Linked DNA regions of Homo sapiens: regions 1, 3, 4, 5, 6 and 7 are each linked to region 2. The links are contacts of gene promoters, found by promoter capture Hi-C in human tissues and cell types (Jung and others, 2019). All regions are on one chromosome and are shown on one strand. Each heading gives the region's core, a stretch centred on a gene start or on the middle of the fragment in contact. The rest is flanking DNA. Distances are from core to core; before and after follow the strand shown. Region 1 has its middle 170 kb from the start of LINC02461. Region 2 holds the start of PRICKLE1 (prickle planar cell polarity protein 1). Region 3 has its middle 150 kb from the start of LINC02461. Region 4 overlaps GXYLT1 (glucoside xylosyltransferase 1). Region 5 has its middle 73 kb from the start of LINC02461. Region 6 has its middle 10 kb from the start of GXYLT1. Region 7 has its middle 110 kb from the start of LINC02461.

The links. The method cuts DNA at HindIII sites, captures the fragments that hold promoters and counts their contacts. A contact is called where the count stands out against the background at its distance.
Region 1: a fragment that was not itself captured here is called in contact with the fragment with the promoter of PRICKLE1 in region 2 in 1 of the 25 tissues and cell types used here (mesendoderm cells).
Region 3: a contact is called between a fragment that was not itself captured here and the fragment with the promoter of PRICKLE1 in region 2, in 2 of the 25 tissues and cell types used here (heart left ventricle and stomach).
Region 4: a contact is called between a fragment that was not itself captured here and the fragment with the promoter of PRICKLE1 in region 2, in 1 of the 25 tissues and cell types used here (bladder).
Region 5: a fragment that was not itself captured here is called in contact with the fragment with the promoter of PRICKLE1 in region 2 in 2 of the 25 tissues and cell types used here (H1 embryonic stem cells and mesenchymal stem cells).
Region 6: a contact is called between a fragment that was not itself captured here and the fragment with the promoter of PRICKLE1 in region 2, in 1 of the 25 tissues and cell types used here (H1 embryonic stem cells).
Region 7: a fragment that was not itself captured here is called in contact with the fragment with the promoter of PRICKLE1 in region 2 in 2 of the 25 tissues and cell types used here (mesenchymal stem cells and thymus).

The regions. Positions count from the first base shown.
Region 1 is chr12:42,988,074-42,991,018 of GRCh38, reverse strand. No RefSeq gene overlaps it. Among named protein-coding and RNA genes, the nearest start is that of LINC02461, 170 kb to the left of the region's middle. The HindIII fragment of the contact is 3,885 bases long and covers 1-2,945 here.
Region 2 is chr12:42,588,335-42,591,102 of GRCh38, reverse strand. It overlaps PRICKLE1 (prickle planar cell polarity protein 1), which reads left to right and starts at 1,357. Exons shown (of 8, transcript NM_153026.3): 1 at 1,357-1,638. RefSeq lists an enhancer at 77-634 and a silencer at 1,104-1,353. The HindIII fragment of the contact is 9,160 bases long and covers 1-2,768 here.
Region 3 is chr12:43,005,300-43,008,432 of GRCh38, reverse strand. No RefSeq gene overlaps it. Among named protein-coding and RNA genes, the nearest start is that of LINC02461, 150 kb to the left of the region's middle. The HindIII fragment of the contact is 5,264 bases long and covers 1-3,133 here.
Region 4 is chr12:42,132,714-42,135,568 of GRCh38, reverse strand. The region is part of intron 1 of GXYLT1 (glucoside xylosyltransferase 1); the gene reads left to right. Among named protein-coding and RNA genes, the nearest start is that of GXYLT1, 11 kb to the left of the region's middle. The HindIII fragment of the contact is 5,711 bases long and covers 1-2,855 here.
Region 5 is chr12:43,081,140-43,084,067 of GRCh38, reverse strand. No RefSeq gene overlaps it. Among named protein-coding and RNA genes, the nearest start is that of LINC02461, 73 kb to the left of the region's middle. The HindIII fragment of the contact is 4,842 bases long and covers 1-2,928 here.
Region 6 is chr12:42,153,499-42,156,248 of GRCh38, reverse strand. No RefSeq gene overlaps it. Among named protein-coding and RNA genes, the nearest start is that of GXYLT1, 10 kb to the right of the region's middle. The HindIII fragment of the contact is 3,053 bases long and covers 1-2,750 here.
Region 7 is chr12:43,046,511-43,049,641 of GRCh38, reverse strand. No RefSeq gene overlaps it. Among named protein-coding and RNA genes, the nearest start is that of LINC02461, 110 kb to the left of the region's middle. The HindIII fragment of the contact is 4,998 bases long and covers 1-3,131 here.

The sequences.
Region 1 (2,945 bases), core at 42-2,541, 400 kb before region 2:
GAGCCTCAGTTTCTTCACTTTAAAAATGAAGGCAATAATGCGTAGATTAGAAAGATTTCACCAGGATTAAAGGAGATTAGGCACAGATAGTATGTAACCCACTGCCTGGCACATGTGAATTTTCTCTCTGCTAAGTGATTATAAATCCAATAAAGGATTTGGATAAATACACAAATAACCTCAGTAGAAGGCAATAGGAGGGAAATGCAATAATAGCATTACAGTCAAACCATATAGACTTCAAAAGGAGATAGCAGTCCTTGCCATAATCAGAGAAAACTTCAGGAAATAACATCTGAGCTAAGCCACATAGAATGGTTAAGGTCTGGGTAGGTGAAGTTGAGGGAGGACTTTAGAAACAGAGAAGATGCAAGATTCAAGTCTCAGAGGTAGGAAACAGCAGGACAGAGCACTGCCTGAGGGACAGTACTCATCCTGTTGGCATGACAAGACTCAGTGTCATGGTAACAGCTTCAGATCTTCTCACAACCTATAGGTAAAAAGAACTGTAAGACTCAAGCCCAAATTGCCTTTTTCTTTGGAGATGGAGTCTCACTTTGTCACCCAGGCTGGAGTGCAGTGGTGCAATCTCAGTTCACTGCAAACTTCACCTCCCAGGTTCAAGTGATTCTCCTGCCTCAGCCTCCCCAGTAGCTGGGATTACAGGTGCCCACCAGCATGCCTGGCAATTTTTTTGTATTTTTAGTAGAGACGGGGTTTCACCATGTCGGCCAGGCTGGTTTCGAACTCCTGACCTCAAGTGATCCATTGGCCTCGGGCTCCCAAAGTACTGGGATTACAGGCATAAGCCACCGTGCCCGGCCTAGTCATATTATTGATGAGCCAATGATCACAGAATGCTCTTTTCCCTGACTGGCTCAGGCTTAGGAACGTGTTTCTGAAAGCAGAACTATTCAGTTATCCCTGCATCCACCCCTTCTTATATCGCTGTGTCTTGTGCCCTTTTCTCGAGACCTAAATGCCTGTGTCACATCTCAAACCTCTGCTAACAACCAGAAGGTAGGGTCAGTCTTGCTCTCCTACTGACCTTCCTACTATGAGCAATAAAGCTTTTGCTTTTCTCACCTGTTTTCTGGTGGTCTTCTTCTAGAATGTTTGACACCTTTGAGAGAAAAATAATAATCCTATAATATTTTTTCTTTGCTGAAAGCCTTTCCAGGTCCCTAGATGAAGAGGAGACTTTTTGTCCTGGGCCATTTCCCACTAGAGCCACTGACTGCTCCTTCTGAACGTTTCACTACACTTTTTCAGGTAAGGTTCTCAGAGAAAGGCCCTATGCTGGGTTCACACTACAAATTCAAGCACGTCAAGGGGCCCAGGGGTGTTGGCTCTATTTTCAGGGAGGTTGCAGAACCCTCATGGGAAGGAACTGGAGGTTATTACCGGGATGATTTATTTTTTTTTTTTCTATCACTAAGAGAAACAGGAAGAGATGGTTAAGAAAGGGTAGGTTCAAGAGAAACAGAATGAAACCTTTAAATGGCTACAGAGTAAAAGAGACCTTCCCAGCAAGAATGGCCTAGTAAATGGGGGCAAAATTCATGCCATATTCTAGACTCACCATTCAGTCATGGAGAATGTAAAATAAATGTAGATAAATTATTAAAATTGGTGAAGTTGTAAATATCATGTGAAATGGTCTACTCTGGGTCCCCATTTAAATTGCTTTGTAAAAAAATAAAAGCCTCTTGCTTGGCACACTTTCACAGTGAAAGGTTATTATTATCTTTTTAATAAGAAGGAGGACCATTTTATACATATACATGTATTCTTGTAGAAGAAATTAACTTAAACTGTAGAAAGATGAGTTTATTAAAATGCATTGGAATTCTCATGCTATTACATTTTTTAATAACCATCTTGCTTTACGCCGTATACCCCTGTTGGTGTACAGACACATCTGGGCCTCACCCAGGTCAATAGTGATGCTTCAGTGCCTCCTTGGGAATTAGCTCTATATTCCAACACAATTCATTTTTAGTGTAAAATTTGTTTGAGCCATGTGAGTAAAAATATATTTAAATTTTTACATATAAAAGCCAAACTTTGAGCACATTTCTGAATTGCAAATATATGAAATAAGGTCAAAAAGAGAAAAAGGACCCAAATACTTGTGAAAAAATGAATGATTGATGGTCCAAACTGCAGTGCTCTAAAACATAATTGTCTTCCTGTGCCCCAAGGGCAGAACCTTCATCTTGTACATGCCAACCAGTGTATAGTATGAAATAATTTTTCTGAAGACCAAGGATCAATTTGTTTAAAATAATAGAGTAATAAACAATTTAATAAACATAAAATTATTTCTATTGTTTGATGACTTTTTTGTCAGAATTTAAAAAGTATAAAAATGCTTTTGTCAAAGTATAAAATAATATCATATAAATATATGTATATATATATGTTTCTTTTATACATGTTTCTTTTGAGGATGTTTTCAGTCAACTACTATCTAAAGGTAATATCTACTTTTATCAACTACAATCTGAATATATGTATAGATATATATATGTTTCTTTTATATATGTTTCTTTCGAGGATGTTTTCAGTCAACTACTATCTGAAGTTAAAATAAGTTAGAGGAGTTATTGTACATATTTATCTTGTATGCCATATTTTAATCAAATCTTATTATTTACTTCCAATTTAAAAAAAAAAATTCCCTCTCTCTCCATGGATTCTAGAGATACTGTGGGGAGAAAAACTGTAAATAGATACAAAATGTCCATAGTATTTATTTTCATTTACAAGATTTTGTTCTTTTTATAGCAAATCAGATATTGAATTTTTGACAACTCCTAAATCTGTCTATATCAAAGAAGGTAAAGGACATCAGAATTTATATTGATTATTGTCGGAACAAGCTTTTTAGTAATGAAATACGGTATGTTATTTTTAAGTTTTTGTGATTATTTTCCCTAGCC
Region 2 (2,768 bases), core at 108-2,607:
CTTGCATTCTCTTTTCATCGGCTCCATTTTTGCTGAGTATTCCTTTGCTTTATTCCCAACGAAAATCGAAAAGACTTGATGTTCTGAGAAATTCTGAGACTGGCAGTTTTGATTTTTCTTAAAAGGATAAAAATTGCATCAGTCAACACCTCCCTCCACACTCCCCCCACACACATCCTCATCTTCCTGGAAGATGATACAGTATCCTAGAGCGTTGTGGAGAGGATGGAGAGGTCAAGGAAGCCCTGGCTTTGCAGAGGCACCTGTCAAGTTCGGGTTAACAGCTGCCGCCTGTGTCTGCCCTCTGCAGTCCAGGGAAATAGTACCCACACGGTGAGACTCCACCGATCCGGAACTGGAGAGGGTGGGGGGTTCTAAGGTTTAGTGTGACACAAATGTCAGGGCAGAACTTTCAAACAGGCTGAGCCCCAGTTCAACGTGGGTGAGTGCGCCTGAGAGCCCAGCTCTGGGAATTGAGCAGACTGAAAATGTGGAGAGTAGTTTGGCCAGTGAAAAATTGTCACCGTGTTCGGATCAATGCTTTGAACCCGCTTTTAAGTGCGCCACGTTCACTTGGGTCAGGCTCTGGACATTGCGGTGGGCTGAGGTTTTCGCGGGCACGATCCCCCACACTGAGTTTTCATGGAGACGACCAGGGCCGTCGAGGCGGGGAAGGGAACGGACTAGAGGCTGAACTTTGGCTTCTTGCTCTGAAAGATCACTCCTCCGGTTCCGGGGCAGAGACTCAGACCAGCCTGTGGGATTACACGAGACAGGATCGAGTCCAAACGGGTCCCCAGCTCGGCAAGGCGCGCCGGAAGGAATCTAAGTGTTTAATTAACTGCCCCCTTCACACACCCCCCGAAGGAGAAGGAACTCAAATAGGCACCCCTACCCAAATCGTTTGATCAGAGGAAATTGGGTTTGTCTCTCCCCCACCCCCCACCCCGTCCCTTCACTCTTCCTGTGTTTCAGTCCATCGGGATTGTTGGTTAAAAAAAAAAAAAAAAAAAGGCTTATAATCGGGGGCGGGGCAGAGGCTCCGAGCGAGCCGCACTTGCGACTCTGGACCGCGGTTGGTGAACTTTTTTCTCCCTGCGCATAATCCGCCTGCTGCTCTGCCCCACTGGCTGCGCGTGGAGCCGGTCCCAGGCCTGCTCGCAGCCCTGCCCCCGGGCGCGGCCCGAGCCGGGCCCGACCTCGCTTTCAGGGCCGAGCCGGGGTACGCGTGGGCGCGCGCCCAGCGGCCTCGATCCCGCGGCGGCGTCCGCGCTCCGCGTTTTCGCTCGCGCCGGGCCCCGCGGCCGAGGGCGGGGTGCGCGGCGGCGCCGCAGCGCGCGGCTCCGGAGCCCGAGCGCACTCCGCCTGCAGCCCAGCTGCCAGCGCCGTCTCCCGCGGCCGCCGCCGCCCGACAGCGCGCCCGGAACATGCCAGCCTCGCGCAGCCTGCGCTGACTTCCCCGAGACGCGCCGCGGTCGGCACGGAGACTTTCTGGGCTCTGGATGGTTCGTGCGCTGCTCACCCTCGCCCACCCCTGACGCCGCGGACCGCAGCTCCTCAGCCCCGCAGCCCCGCAGCCCAGCAGCCCCGCAGCGGCGCCGAGGACAGTGCAGCCGAGTTGCGTCTCCCTCGCGCGAGGTGAGTGGCAGCCTGGATCCCGGCGGATTCCGCAGAGGGGGCTGCGGCGCGGTGGTGGGGGGCGAGCGCCGCAGGGGTAGGGCCGGGCACCTTCGCTGGCACCGCCGGAGTCTGTGACACCCAGACTGGGTCGGTGTCGCAGAAGATCAGGGAGAAGGTCATAATCGGTTTGTTGGGCTGTGTAGACAGGGAAAGCAGATATTGGCTGCAGCATCGCCAGGGCTCCGCAGAGGCTCTCCGCATGGCTCCTGTTTGCTGCATCACAACCAACTCTTCCCTTGGTTTTCTCCGGCGTGGAAACAGGTTCTGTAGCCCGAGGGTCGAGGCGATGCGGGGCGCCGGGAGGCGAGGGTGCGTTGGCGTGTTCCCGCCGCTTAGGATCGCCTGTCACCTACTGGCGTCCGGAGGGAGGGTACCGATTCTCTCCTCTAGCGCTGGGGAAAGGGGCTGGTGGCTTTTTGGCAGAGGCGAATCAACTCCCACCACTCTCCCCAACCCCCTGCCCCGCGATGGTGTTTGCTGAATGTAGCACAGATATAGGGAAAAAATGGGAGCGTCTTCCTCTCTTGAGGTAGAAAAAGTTGAAGAAACTAGGCATGTTAATAGTTATTAGGAGCGGGACTCAGGATGCAGCAGAAAGCTGTTAAATTTTCATTACCCTCTAAGAAAAACAAACGGCATCGCCAGTGACTATTGGCAGTGCTGTGTTATTCTTGGGACTTTGGGAAAATTGTTCACAGATTGTCTTCAGGAGGCTGAAGAACGAGGTTGGGGGTTGGGAGAGAGGGAGGACGGCTGCATCACGCTTAGTTCCAGCTTGCCTAAGGAGGGTTCAGGATCACAAGCCGAACGCGTTTGGTTGCTGATTTTTAAAAGGGTATCAGCGGCAGAACTGAGACCATGAACAAGGCAAACACACCACGGGAACCAGCCTAAAGGAAAAAAAAAAAGCACCAACAACTACAACCAAAAAAACATGTAAAAATCTGCCTCTCCTGCAGAGTTAACATGCATTTGTGCTATCAAATGGATGCATGTATATGTGTCTTTTAGGATAAGTTTTATGAATGACAAATCACTGAAATGGTATCTTGTATCTGTTCATGCATACAGTGTTGTCTACTGCCTCG
Region 3 (3,133 bases), core at 365-2,864, 420 kb before region 2:
TCTAAGGGCTACTTAAAGAATAAATCCAGTCTACTTGAAAAATATAGAAAAACTTCTAACAAAAAAAGACTATAATAAATGCAGAATATGGTCTGTCCTGATACTTCTTTCTGCCTGTCCTCATGTTCACCTCTTTTTCCATTAAACTCCCTGAATGGCTTACATCAAACAAAAAGCTGATTAAAGTTTACCAAAAGTTTCAGTGTTTGGGAGTCAAATACATATCTCACCAAAAAGTACAAATGAATGGGACCCTCAAGTGTTTTTCAAAAACCTATGTCCCCAGTAGTTTTTCCAAGAAAGATTCTATTTCTTGGAAATAGAATAAAATAAAAACAAAAATTCTAGGTTTTTAGTTCCTTTTAAGCTTGATCTTCGTGGATAAGAATATTAGTGGTTATGATGTATGGAGAGAGAGAGATGAGAGGGACAGCAACTTTGATCAAGTCTGACTGGCTAAGACTCAGAAATACCTGCTTCTTCTCCTGCCTTTTCCTCTTCATGCTGGTGCATGTTTTCTTCAACTTGTAATTTGGTTAGGATTCCTTAGCCACTAACACATATTCAGTAGGAAAACTAGTAAACTTTAATGTTAATCTCTTTGAAGGAATTTTTTCAGTAAAGAAAAAAGATAAAGCAGTATATGGAGGAGAAAGCAGATTCAAGAAGGTATTGTTGTTGTTGTTTATGTTTTTTGTTTTGAGATGCAGTCTCATTGTCACCCAGGCTGGAGTGCAGTGGCGCAATCTCGGCTCACTGCAACCTCCGCCTTCTGGGTTCAAGCGATTCTCCCACCCCAGCTTCCTATCTTGGACTACAGGCACGTGCCACCACGCCTGGCTAATTTTTCTATTTTTAGTAGAGACAGGGTTTCACCATGTTGGCCAGGCTGGTCTTGAACTCCTGACCTCAGGTGATCCGCCTGCCTTGGTCTCCCAAAGTGCTGGAATTACAGGCATGAGCCACCGCGCCAGGCCCAAGAAAGTGTTTTGTATTGCTTTAGCTGGGGACATTATGGTATGTTTATATATTTATGGAATTTTCTTCCCATAGAGAGGAAAATATATAGATTCCAGGAAAAGAAAGGAAAAATTTGCTGAAGTGGTAACCTTGAGAAAAGGAAAGAAGCCATCTAAATCTCAATCAGAGGATTAAGCAGATACAAGCACGGACAATTCTTCCACAGTAGTAGGTGAACACTAAAGCCTGTGGATACAGTTGCTAGTGGGTCTGGTAGATGTGGTGATGGGAATATATGACACAATTTTCAGTGACATAGGAAGCAAGGTTATCACCTGAGAGTGAAGATGAGGGAGGGGGTTTTCAAGTTTTAAGGAAAGGGAGAAGGAATAAAATAATTATCTAGAAGAACAATGGAGTGAATTGACTAGGGATTTGGGGTGGGATTGCTTGGCAACTTTGACAATCCAGTTGAGGATGGCAGTCATTAATTTAAAGTGAGACCAGGCTTTGTGATGGGTTGTGTTTTAGTTTTATTTCCTCCAGCCACATTTAACTGTGTGGATGCAGGTTTTAATTCATGCAGTTAGGATTTTCTAGGTGCATGCAATGAAGATATAATAAGGCAGTGGAGATAATGATTGTGATGATAATGGTAATGATGATGAAAGACCTTGGAATCTATGTTGAGTGAAGAGAGAAATAAGGATGACAAGGGGATGAAAAACAATGAGATGGTAGTAGGATCAATTATGTTTATCACCACTGGGGATACCGTTATTGGTAATATAAAGGCTTATTGTATGTATGACAATAGGAGTTGATGACTAACGTGGGGTGGAGAAGAAAAAAATTACAAGAGAGGAAATTAAGGGCAGCATATCAGAAAGATCATCTATGTGGATATTGAAATGCCCCTGAAGTTTGAATGGAGAGCCAGTAAACAAAAGCTAAAAATGTTAAGTAATGAGAGAAAGTGGCCAAGGCTATGTGGTCAACATGGAGGAGATGAGAGTGGTATAGTCTGAAGATATAAGTAGCAAGTCTGGGAGTTGTAGGCAAGAAGTAGAAACAATGAGCTAAAGTTGTAATGAAAGCAAGAAAGACACCTACTGTAGCCCTAGGTTCAGTGGCACTGGGGAGTGGGAGAAAACAGTCACTACATTTAGAATCTTGCTTGAGTTTCTGGAGGAATTTCTATATTCACATTGCTAGTATAGTCTTCTACATGCATCTTTATGATTTTTTCTCTTTCTAAAGCTTAACATGTTTTTCCTCTTTCCATAATTATGCTATGCCTACAATGGCATCATCTCCTAGATATCTGTCAGGCTATGAGAGCTGGGGATGGGAAATCAGAGACCTAAGTGAACCAACCAGTTCACATGGTCAACATTTTATTTTTGGCTCATGTTTTCTTAAATTGCTTTAACTTTTACCAGCCTTGGCATTAAGGGGTTGCTTGAATGTGGGGAGGGAACTTGAATACCACATACAAATGTTATCTATCAATCCCCCAATGACCCCAAGTAAAATGAAATAATATTTTCCAATATAGACCCTTGACATTTCTCTATGTTAATAAGGTGTGAAGGAAAGCATCCGGAAGTAGAAAGCTGTTACTTTAATTAATTTGTAACATACATTCTACATAAAAAATGTGCTTGCCATACAAATGCCATTTCCCTCCACCACACACTCGTTTTCCACCCCAAACCCCGCTGTGAAAAAATTCTGTAGTCACTATTGACTGCCTGCATGCTTTCACTAGTATGTGGCATGGTTGTAAACATAGCTTCCATTCGTGGATATAACAATTCAATTTGTGACTATGTAATTGATCTGCCTTGAATTTCATCAAAGTACATTTGGTACAAAAAGTACTGGAAAACTTTGTATTTGTGTACTTGTGCGATTTGAACCCTAAAATGAGTTACAGTGAGGCTTCAGAACATTATGTGTTTTTAAAAATACTGCAAATTAAGTCTTTTTGATACTTTTCCCCCTAAAACCATGAACAACAAGCTCACATTAAATGGAAATTAACATAGGATTCTAAGAATTAACGTAGTCGACAGAACCAGAATCTACTAAAAGTATGTCTCTTTCCAACACTCACTGAAATGCACGTTAATTCATAGGAAGACTCAGGTTAGTCCAAACCAAGCGAAAA
Region 4 (2,855 bases), core at 317-2,816, 460 kb after region 2:
CATTTGAGTTCTTTCATACTTTTTGGCTATTATGAATAATGCTGCTCTGAGCATTCATGGACAGTTTTTCTGTGAACATGTTTTCAGTTCTCTTGAGTATATACTGAGGAATTTAATTGGTGAGTCATGGTTGCACAACTCTGAATATACGAAAAACCATTGAATTACACACTTTAAAAGGGAATTATGCTTGTATTATTCTGCTTTGCTTTGTAACAACCCCATACATCTAAACAGTTTACAATAGCAAGCATTTATTTCTTGCACACATTACATGTCTATGGCTATGACTTTGCTTGATATATCTTCTCATCCTGGGATCCAAGCTAAAGGAGCAATCCATACATTGGATATGCCTGGTCTTGTGGTAGTGGATGAGCAAGAAGCCAGATTGAACAACACAGTCCCATTTGAAGCTTCTACTTTGATGCCACAGTATCATGTCTTTTTATATTATTTTGGCCAAAGCAAGTCACTTGAATAAGGTCAAAGTCAATAAATGATGCAGGGATATATGCCTCCCTTATCAGGCAGGCAAGGCCCATGGTAATGAATAGGGTTGTATAATCCTTTTACAGTTAAATGTGGGGAGTGAATAACTGAACAGTAATACAGTCTACTACACAAATAGAGATTGCCAGTTAAGGAGAAAGAAAGACTAATTGATGCAAGAAGGTCTTTAAGGACTCCTGAGAAGAAGATGGGCAACAAGGGGAAGCATATGGAGTTGGTAATAGGTATGAGACTAGCTAAGGGGAAGACAATTAATTTATATTTCTACTAATCAGCATAGTCATGTCATTAACTGTTCTTCAGTATTCATCTGAGAATGTGAATGAACAGCTCAGTTTCAACTGAAGATTGTGCTGAAAAGGTACGGTGAAAGAAGAAGGTGGAAGTTTGCAGGTATAGGAACATGAATGGATGAACCATATGATGTAGTCTGAGTAGGGAGGGAAATGGGTAAAGCAGGGAGCTTATACTTAGGAAGCATGTGATTGGAGGGCTGAGTGATTTCCACACATGTAATGGGATATAAATAATAAGCCTGGGCAACAAAGCAAAACTTTGTCTCTACAAAAAATTTTTTAAAAATTAGGCTTGGTGGCACATGCTTATAGTCCTAGATACTTGGGGACTGAGGCAGGACGATAGCTTGAGCCCAGGAGATTGAGGCTGTAGTGAGCTGTGTTTGTACCACTGCACTCCACCCTGAGCGACAGAGCAAGACCCTGTCTCAGAAAAAAGAACCATAATTATTAGATCAGAGACTAGTCTGAGATGAGGTATTGGATTGCAGTTTCTGACAGGGTCCAGGATTTGTCATTTTTTTACTTTTTCTTCTCTCTCTCTTTTTTTTTCTTTTGTCAGAGAGGGTCTCACTCTGTTGCCCAGACCTGGTGTGCATTGGCATGATCACAATTCACTGTAGCCTCAAACTCCTGGGCTCAAACTATCCTCCTAACTCAGCCTCCCGAGTAACTGGGACTACAGGCACACACCACCATGCCTGGCTAATTTTTTTTTTATTCTTTGTAGAGATGGGGTTTTGCCATGTTGCCCAGGCTGGTGTTGAACTCCTGGGCTCAAGCGATCCACCCACGTCGGCCTCCTAAAGTGCTGGGATTACAGGTGTGAGCCACTGTGCCCGGCCAGCATTTGCCATTTTTCACTGAAGGGAAAAGGAGGTAAGAGTTACTGGATTTAAAGAATTGTGTAACCTGGGTGTTGGTTAGGTCTCTCACCTTGCAGTATCTGAAATGACATTCTGTTACTCCCCACTAGACAGTATGATCCATGTCCATTTTACTCACTATAGTGTTGCCAGTGTTTGGCCTGTGTAGGTAGTCATTCAGTAGAAAATTTATTGATTTACCAAATGAATGGTTAGAGGAAAGTAGGATTTGGTACTGAGACGAGGACTGTGAACCGGATGCTAGTTTTCTGTGAGTTGGGGAGGAACCAGTAGGTTGGTAGATCAGAATGGTGTGGCATTGTGGCTCTTTTACATGGCTAGCAGTTGATGCTGGCTTTTGACTAGGAGCTCAGTGGAGGCTGTTGATCTGCATTCTCTCAAGTGGCTTCTGCATGTGCCTTGGGCTTCTTACAACGTGAAGATCAGGTTCAAAGAGTGTTCCAAGAAATAGGATGTGGAGCTCTTAAGGGAAGGGCCTGGACATTGGTACAGTATTATATTCAGTATTCTATTTGTCAAAGCAATCACAGAGCCCACTTAGATTCTGGATAAGGGGAGTTAGATCCTACTTGGTTGGTTGGTTGGTTGGTTTTTTGAGACAGAGTCTTTCTCTGTCACCCATGCTGGAGTGCAATGGAATGATCTTGGCTCACTGAAACCTCCGCCTCCTGGGTTCAAGCGATTCTCCTGCCTCAGCCTCCTGAGTAGCTGGGATTACAGGCAACCGCCACCACACCTGACTGATTTTTTTTATTAGAGATGGGGCTTCACCATGTTGGCCAGGCCATTCTCAAACTCCTGACCTCAAGTGATCCGCCTACCTTGGCCTCCCAAAGTGCTGGGATTAGAGGCATGAACCACTGCGTGCAGCAGATCCTACTTATTAATAGAAGTGTCAGATGTGTGATCATCCTTAATCCACCATACTTGGCACCTAGTTTGGTACTAGCAGAAGTGTAGGGCTCTTGGTGTGGCTCAAAGCTTCACAAAATTTAAACTCGTTACTGAGTTGTTCAATATGTTGGTCTTGTTGAATTTAATTCTCATGTCTGTGGCTTCGTCATCTTGCATCAACTTAAAAAAAAAAACAAAACAAAAACATTGCCCCCAAATACAGTTTAATTGTAATACTGCAAGAGGGTCTTTTGAGTTAGAAGCT
Region 5 (2,928 bases), core at 217-2,716, 490 kb before region 2:
CTTCTAGATTGATGTCTTTCATTGACTAATGTGCTTTTTAGCCTCCATGTGTTTTCATGACTTGATAGCATTTATTTTCAGTGGTGAATAATATTCCATTGTCTCAATGCATCACAGTTTATTTATCCACTCACCTAGTGAAGAACAGACATCCTGATTGCTTCCCAGTTTTGGCAATTATGAATAAAGCTGTGCTAACATCTGTGTGTACATGTTTTTGTGGGCATAAGTTTTCAACTCATTTCAAGGAGCATGATTGCTGAATTGTATGGTGTGTTTAGTTTAATAAGAAAGTGTCAAATTGTCTTCCAAAGTTTCTGTGCTATTTTTCATTCCTGCCAGCAGTGAATAAGAGTTCTTATTGTTTCACATCCTTGCCAGCATTTGATGTTGTCAGTATTTTGGGTTTTCTTCATTCTGATAGGTGTCTAGAGGTGTCTCATTGATTTAATTTGCAGTTCCTTAATAATGTATGATGTTGAGCATCTTTTCATATGCTTATTTGCCATCTATGTATTTTCTTTGGTGAGGTGCCTGTTCTTTTGCCCATTTTTAAATCAGGTTATTTATTTACATAGTGTTGGGTTTTAAGTGTTCCTTTTATATTTGGGATAAAAGTCCTTTTTTGTATCGGTCTTTTGCAAATATTTTCTAAGTCTGTAGTTGTTTTCTCATTCTCTTAACAGTGGTTTCCAAAAACTCAACTGTTTTATTTTGAAGTCCAGCATATCAATTATTTCTTTCATGGGTTGTGCCTTTGTATTATATATTCTCAAAGCCTTTTTAGGTCTTTTTTTTATTGATTTGGTTCTAGAAGTAGTAAAGTTTTCTTACCTTGAAAGGCTCCATATTTCAGAGCTAGCATTATCTTTCTCTCTCTCTCTTGCTCTCTCTCTCTCTCGTCATTCATTGCTTAAGAAATGGTTCTCTGTAGTCTGCCTTCATTTCATTCTTCTCATGTCATATTAAACTCAGTAACAATGAACAGATAATACTACTAATCCTATTTCAAGTTTTTTAAAATTACACCATACCACTTAAGTCACCAATTTCTATTTTAGAATAGTAGGCACTGTTATAAATAAATCCTCAAATCTCAGTGGCTTAATGGAAATTTATTTTTGATTCACATACTAGTCAATTATGAGGATTCCTGGTTGGTGTTTAGTCACATGAGAATTATAGATCCCAGTCTACTTTCATTGTGTGGTTCCACTTTCTCAAACAGATGGGGAAAGTCATAAGAGTTTGTTTAAAAGTCCCTTGGCCCAGAAGTGACTGGTCATTTCTCATTATATTACATTGTTATAAATTATTCTTGTTTTCTCTTCTGGATCCAAGAGAGCTTTGTCTTGGAAATACAGTCCTTGGTTGGGAAGTCTTTCTACATTATGACAGACAGAATATGAATATTTTGTAGGAAACATACATTATTTGTAGAAAAAAACATAAGAATGGAGGATTTCAGCCAGGAGTAATGTGATGAGAGAAAGAATTGAAAGGGCCAAAGAAGAATCCCTAGATCATACCAACATTTAAGGGACTGGCTGAGAATGAGAACCATGGGAAGAAGACTTAGAAGGAATTGATCAGCCAGAGGGCAAAATCTAGGATGCCAGGGGAAGAAACAGTTTCAATTAAGAAAAAAAAAAAAAAAAACCGAGAGCTAAATGCAGATATGTATGTTAATAAAGGGGTTCAAAATACTTTATTGTATTTGGAATTGATAACATATAAAGTGAAATGAGGGATGTGATAGCCAGTTTGCAGAGGGTAGTAGAGTGGACAGGATTTAAATACGGATGTGGAAAAAGGAACTAAAGACTCTTTCTGCCATAGTTTAAATGTATTCCCCAAAGTTCATGTATTGGGAACTTAATTCCCAATGTGTTGAGAGGTGGGACTTTTAGGAGGTAATTAGGTCATGAGGGTTCTGCCCTCGTGAATGAATTAATGTCATTATCATGGGAGTAGATTTGCTATAAAATTGAGTTTGCCCGCAATACTTTGTCATGCTCTCAAGACCTTTCTGCCTTCCACGAGGGATGATGCAGCAAGAAGACCCTGACCACATGCCAGCCCCTTCTTGGACTTCCCAGCCTCTAGGACTGTAAGAAATAAATCTCTATTCCTTATAAATTACCCAGCCTGTGGTATCCTCTTATAGTAGCACAAAGTAGACTAAGACACTTTCTCGTAAGAACTTTGCATCAGCAGAGGAGAAACGATATAAAGAAATACCTAGAAGGAGACACAGATTTAATGTAAGGGATTTACTATTGCTTTTGTTGCAAAAACAAATTTTTTTAAAAAAAAGAAGACTAAGTTTTTGTTGCAAAATATCATTTTGTTTTGGAATTTGAAGAGACTTAACCATGTGGATACACTGAAAAGGGCACATATTTCCTGCCAATATAAAACTACGAGGAAGATAACTTTCCTCCTCAGAACTCCTATAGTGTTTAACTGAACCATTAGTGCGTCGTAAATACCCATATTCTTGACAGGTTTCCACTACTAGACATAAGATCACTGAGGCAGAATCTAGGTCTAATTTATAGTTGCATCTGCAGAGCATCTTAGGAACATTGACGTGTTTACCTTCTGTATATAGAATAGTAACCAAAAATGTTTTTTGTATAAATGTAAGAAATCTTTCACTGTCAAGATTGTGTATTTGCTCAAGTGAATATTGTTTCTTGAAAAGATGGGTGATGATTTTTAAGCCTACCAACCTTTCTGCTCCATAATTTTCTCCCCTTCTTTTTACATTCTCACTCATTTTTTTCTGTTGTACTGCTAGACAATAGAGGCAGCCATCATAATTATAATAAATGTAACACGATCTACTTCATAAGGAAACATTATTTGTGATTAATATAATAAGATTAAAGACTCAGAAACAACCCTGTGGAGCTATCCAACCTC
Region 6 (2,750 bases), core at 83-2,582, 430 kb after region 2:
CCAGTTGGGGAGGTATCTATTTCACTGGGTCCTTGCCCCAAAAAGTTCCCCCAGGGGTTTATTCTTACAACTTGAAATGAAGGTTTTTTTAAAATATTATTTGGCGTGATTTACACTAGATATATGTGGCCATTTGTAAGAACAAAAGAAAATTATTAACTACTTTCCTGAATGCATTTTCCTACCAGCCCAGATAATTTAAATTTTAAGTATGTAATGTGGAGTTGACCCTTGAACAACATGGGTTTTAACTGCGTGGGTGCACTTACACATGGATTTTCTTCCAACTCTGCCACGTCGAAGACAGCAAAATCAACCATTCCTCTTTTTCCTCAGCCTACTCAACATGAAGACTATGAGGATGAAGACCTTTATGATGATCAACTTCCACTTAATGAATAGTAAATATATTTTTCCTTCCTAATGATTTAACAATTTCTCTAGCTTACTTTGTTGAAGAATACAGTATATAATACATATACAAAATATGTGTTAATTAACTTTATGTTATCAGTAAGGCTTTTGGTCAGCAGTAGGCTATTAGTAGTTACGTTTGCGGGGAGTCAAAAGTTGTATGCGAGTTTTTGACTGCTTGAGGGTTGGTGTGTCTAACCGCCACATTGTTTAAGGGTCAACTGAATTAGGCTTTGTGCTTAGCCAGTGCAGATATTCCTGTCTTTATGGAATAGTCTAATTCTGGAGCATATGAAATGCCATAAGACTAAATACTTCAATGGAAAAAATCAAGTAGCTACCTGGAAGGCTTCGGTGCTCTGGGACATGTTTCACATTCTTAGTCTCCCCTGTTGCTGGGAGTTATGGACTGTAATAGCTATTTCACTGTTGTAATACAGTAAGTATTTTGTTGACTTTGGTTTTATTTACATCAGTATTATTTAATTCAGTGAACACTTATTGAGTATTATTTAATTCAGTGAACACTTACTGAGTATGTATGAATATACATACTCAATAAGATGTGGAATGGCCATCTTAGAGACTGTAAATAATTACAGTGCCATAACTACAATAATAAAAACATGTATGAGATGCAGACAAGAGAGAGTGCTTGCCACCCATTTGTTTCTAGAAAATTCACCTAGGCTAAAGCATCTACTGCAAGTCCACATTGAAAATGTTAGGGCCTCATCTTGATGTTTGAAGCTGATAATTTTGGGTGTCACCAGTAGTTTTAGCCCAACTCCACTTTTATTTACTCCAGCTTGAATTTTTGAAAGTTTAAGACTTTAAGCCATGTAAAGTGAGACAATTTATCATTTTCCTGCACTAATTTTTAAAAAATCATACAACAGCTGAATGAGGTCTGCTATGTCCTTTTTGTAGATGAAGAAGCGTATTACATCACTCTGTCCAAAAGAAATTTTATTCAGATTTATTTCAGAAAGAGCTTTACTTCACCTGAGAAATTGCCTTTTCCTTATGGACAAAGCAGATTATTAATTGGTTGCCCGATATTTTTGCTGTAGTTGTGAGAAATCTCCTATTAAAATTGGGTTCAGGCTGGGTGCGGTGGCTCACACCTGTAATCCCAGCACTTTGGGAGGCCGAGGTGGGCAGATCACCTGAGGTCGGGCGTTCGAGACCAGCCTGGCCAATACGGTGAAACCCCGTCTCTACTAAAAATACAAAAAATTAGCTGGTCATAGTGGCAGGCACCTGTAATCCCAGCTACTTGGGAGACTGAGGCAGGAGAATTGCTTGAAACCAGGAGATGGAGGTGGCAGTGAGCAGAGATCCCACCCCTGCACTCCAGCCTGGGTGACAGAGCGAGACTCCATCTCAAAAAAAAAAAAAAAAAAAAATTGAGTTCAGTTTTAATAATTATGTAGCCTTGGTTGTCTGCTTATCTGCATTCTAACTTTTTAGTCTTTTTTTTAATCAGAGGAAAAGATTTAATATAAAGATTCAAGCTTCACATCATGACAAATAATAAATTGTGAAATATAATTTTTTCTTCTTCTTTTCGTATTTTTTATAAATATTGGGTTTCACAACATTGCCCAGGCTGGTCTTGAACTCCTGGGCTCAAGCCATCCTCTCGAGTTGGCCTCCTAAAGTATTGGGATTATAGGTGTGAGCCATGGAGGCTGGTGGTGGCTCTTTTTCTATTTTAATCTAATTTCTTATTCTTGATCTTTTTTGTATTTTTCCAGAGTTTGATTTTTATCTACTTGTTTTTCTTTTGTTTTTATAAATGGCCACAAATATCTAGTGTAAATCAGGCCAAATAGTATTTAAAAAAAAAATCTTCCTTATTTCAAGTTGTAAGAATAAACTCCTAGGGGAACTATTTGGGGCAAGGATCCAGTGAGATACATACCTCCCCATCTGGAATTCCTGAGGAGTGGAAATAATACATACAGTTTTAGTAGGTCTTTAGATTACATCTAGATTTAAATCGGCTGACCTACCTGGAAGAAGGGAGTTTGGATGAAAGCTACCACCTCATCATCATTTTTCTAATAAATCTTTTAGCAAGAAAATTCAGAAACTAAATGGATATTATTTTCATTATCCTCTTTTAATTCATAATCCAACAATAAAATGGTCCTGTGTTTACTTTTGGAGTCAGCAAGAATGGGAAGAGTTGGAAGGTTATAAAACTAGTTTGGGAGAAGACTTCTAAAGGACAAAGAAAATGACGGTGAACACATTTTGTTTTTTAATTTTTAATTTCTGTGGGTACATAGGTGTATATATTTACAGGGTACATGAGATGTTTTGATACA
Region 7 (3,131 bases), core at 548-3,047, 460 kb before region 2:
CACATTTGACCTGGAGTCAACCTGTGAGATAGCAACCAAGCCCACAGATAGGAAATTGACAGCAGAGTGTACATATGCTCCCTTTTAAGGGAAAATTAATGCAAATTTGCACCTGAAGCCTAGAGTTCATGTATCTTTGTCCTTTGGATTCTTTTAACTTGACCTTTCAGCTTTCCATGACTTATTCTATCCTATTCACATTGAGATTTCACAAGTTCAAAGTCACTAAAATTATATATATACACATATATGTATATATATGTACATATATGTGTATGTGTGGGTGTGGGTATATATATATAGTCATTGTCAAATATATATGTATAGCCATTTAAAAATCAAATGTTCCTTGGCTAGGTGCAGTGGCTTAGGCCTGTAATCCCAGCACTTTTTTTACTACTACCATTATTTAAATATTTAATTTATAGGCATACATTTAATAGCTGTACAAAAAAATTAAACACTTTGGGAAAAATGAGTTCTGTAAATCAGTTGGTAAGATTGCCTCTTTGAAAAAAATGTAAAGATAAAAGGAGCCCAAGTCACAGTCCACATTATTTCTGCTCATTACACATTCCTAAAAAAAGAATGAGAGAGAATGCTGTTGTAATCTACATTATCTTGATTTCGCTAGTTCATTTTACAGGATTATTTTCTTGGTTATCATTCTAATAAGTGATGTATGCCATCAGCAAGGGACAATTTTAAAAGAAAAGTAGAAACAGTATAAAAACTAGAATACAATTTTTATGATTATTCATTGCATGTTATTTTCTAAGCATTGCTATTCTAAATAACAAAGCTATTGGGAAGAATTCCACAGCTTAAAATTTGATTTTAGAGCTCAATATTTTTCTTTAAAAAAAGTATAATGGTGTGCAGAATCAAGTAATAAGAGAACTATGCTGATGGTTTTAGTATTCAGCCCTTCTGATTACATTTGCATATACCCAGGCATTTTTAGAAAAAACGTAAAAGAAAAATACAGTCCTGGTATTACCAGAACAAAATGTAATGCCATTGTCCCAAATAAGCTGTCTGTTCCTAGAACAGTTTTCTTGGTGATAGTAGACATTTACATGCAAAATTGCAAATTGAGCAGGGATTCTAAACAGTAGAAATAATTTAATCACATTTAATGACAATATTTTGAAAAGTTAATTTTTCCCTCTTAATATATAAAGAGCTCTGGATAAGCAATAATGAATAATAAGCATAGAGATTAAAAAACTGAACAGATTTAGAAAAAGCAACACAAAAAATTTAAAATGGCTGATAAATATGTCACAAGCTTTTCAATCTCTCCAGTGATCTCATGGACAGTAAGAGAACATGAGACATCTGCACAGCCTAACCCTTCCAATTACTTAGTGACAAAGAAAGAGAAAATCGTTGACATGACACAGATGAATAAATTCTGCAGCACAAATTCAGGGGAGCAAATAGATTTACATAGGAATAAAGAAACTGAAAGTAGATTGCCTGTTCTATTTCTCACTGAAAAATAAGAGGACACCCCATCTAAGACAGAAGCAGCATTCTGTTCAAAATCTATTAGTAAGTGAACACATTTACGACACACTTTAGCATGGAGTACAGCCCATCCACTTCATCCTCACCTCACCAGCTTCATTTCCCACTGTTCTCCCCATCCTAACACAGCAGCACACTCCACGTTTTAGCAATTTTTAACCATTTGGAGTTCACTAAATACATCATACTGCTTTATTCTTTATGTCTGGGAAATGCTTTACTCTTTGCATTATCTTAGTTGTTCAATTACTTGTATCCATTTATTCAATCATTCAACAAGTTATTTTCATAGAGTACCAGCTGGGTGACTGGTGTGCTGGGCACCGAACTTGTAAAGATAAATAGGACATCGTTCCTCTTTTCTAGAAGCTTGCATTCTAACCCAGGAAGGAACATAAGAAAACCAGTTCATTTGATTTGGTAATGGAACGAAGTATAGAGTGCTAGAGCAGAGCGTGCCTGGAGGAAGTGATGCTCACGCTGACGACGATACAACTGTAGACGTCAGCCTGGCAAGAGGTGAGTGACAGAATGTTCCAGAAGAATCAATCCGTGCATACAGAGGGCCAAAAGTGATTCTGCTATATTATGGCAGAAGACTCTATAGAGTTTGTCAATGAACTGTGTTTGTAGAGCAAGGGGAAAGGAGATGTATGGAAATCCTCTTGGACTTCTTGAGATAATTTAGAAATGACCATCTATGGATGGTATTTGATGTCACAGGAGTGGATGAAATTATTGCCAAACATTTTATTAGACTGACTCTTGCCTACCCTTCCAGTTTCAGTTCATATGTCACTTCCTACAGAGAAAGGGCCCAGGACCATGCCCTTAGGAGCTACACCCCTTCAAGGTTCTATAGAGAGAAAGGAACTGACAAAGGAAACTAAAATGTAATGGGCAGAGGGATAGGAGGAGCCTCAGAAGGGACTGATGCTCTGGAATTTGAGAATGATGAGAATGATGATAATGATGAAGTTTAACCTTAAACTTTATCTGAATTGAATTCTAAAGTTTTTTTATTCTCAAAATTCAATTGCCATAGTTTTAAGAATCAAAAATATACTGAAATCGTTTAAAACTAATGTCTGCTTTGCAAATTATCAAAGGTAAAATTCAATAAAACAAATTCCATATATTAAAGGCTAAATAAAAAATTGAAGAAACATAAAAATTGAAAGATAAAAAGTTAAAGGATTAGCAAATAAATATAAGAAGATGTATAAACTATATATTAATATAAAAAAGCAAGAATGGCTAGAGAAATACTGGGCAAGATAGAATTTACAGGGGAAAATATTAAATGGAATAAATAAGATCATTTTATAGTGGCAAAATGCACAAAAAAGAGTTTCAAAGGCAATACAAAATTAATGAAATGGAATTGCTTAACATTTGACTCAATCTCAGTCAGCTTATGATAGAACAAGAGGTGACATAAATGACTTAATAAAGATACAGAAAATCTTTAAAACTTATGTACTCCAACATTAATATAAAATATGTATCAAACATTATAAATTGAAAAAAGAAAGTATACTATCTTCCTCAGTATTGCTTTAACATTTACAATCAAGCTTATATTTTGAGCAATCAAA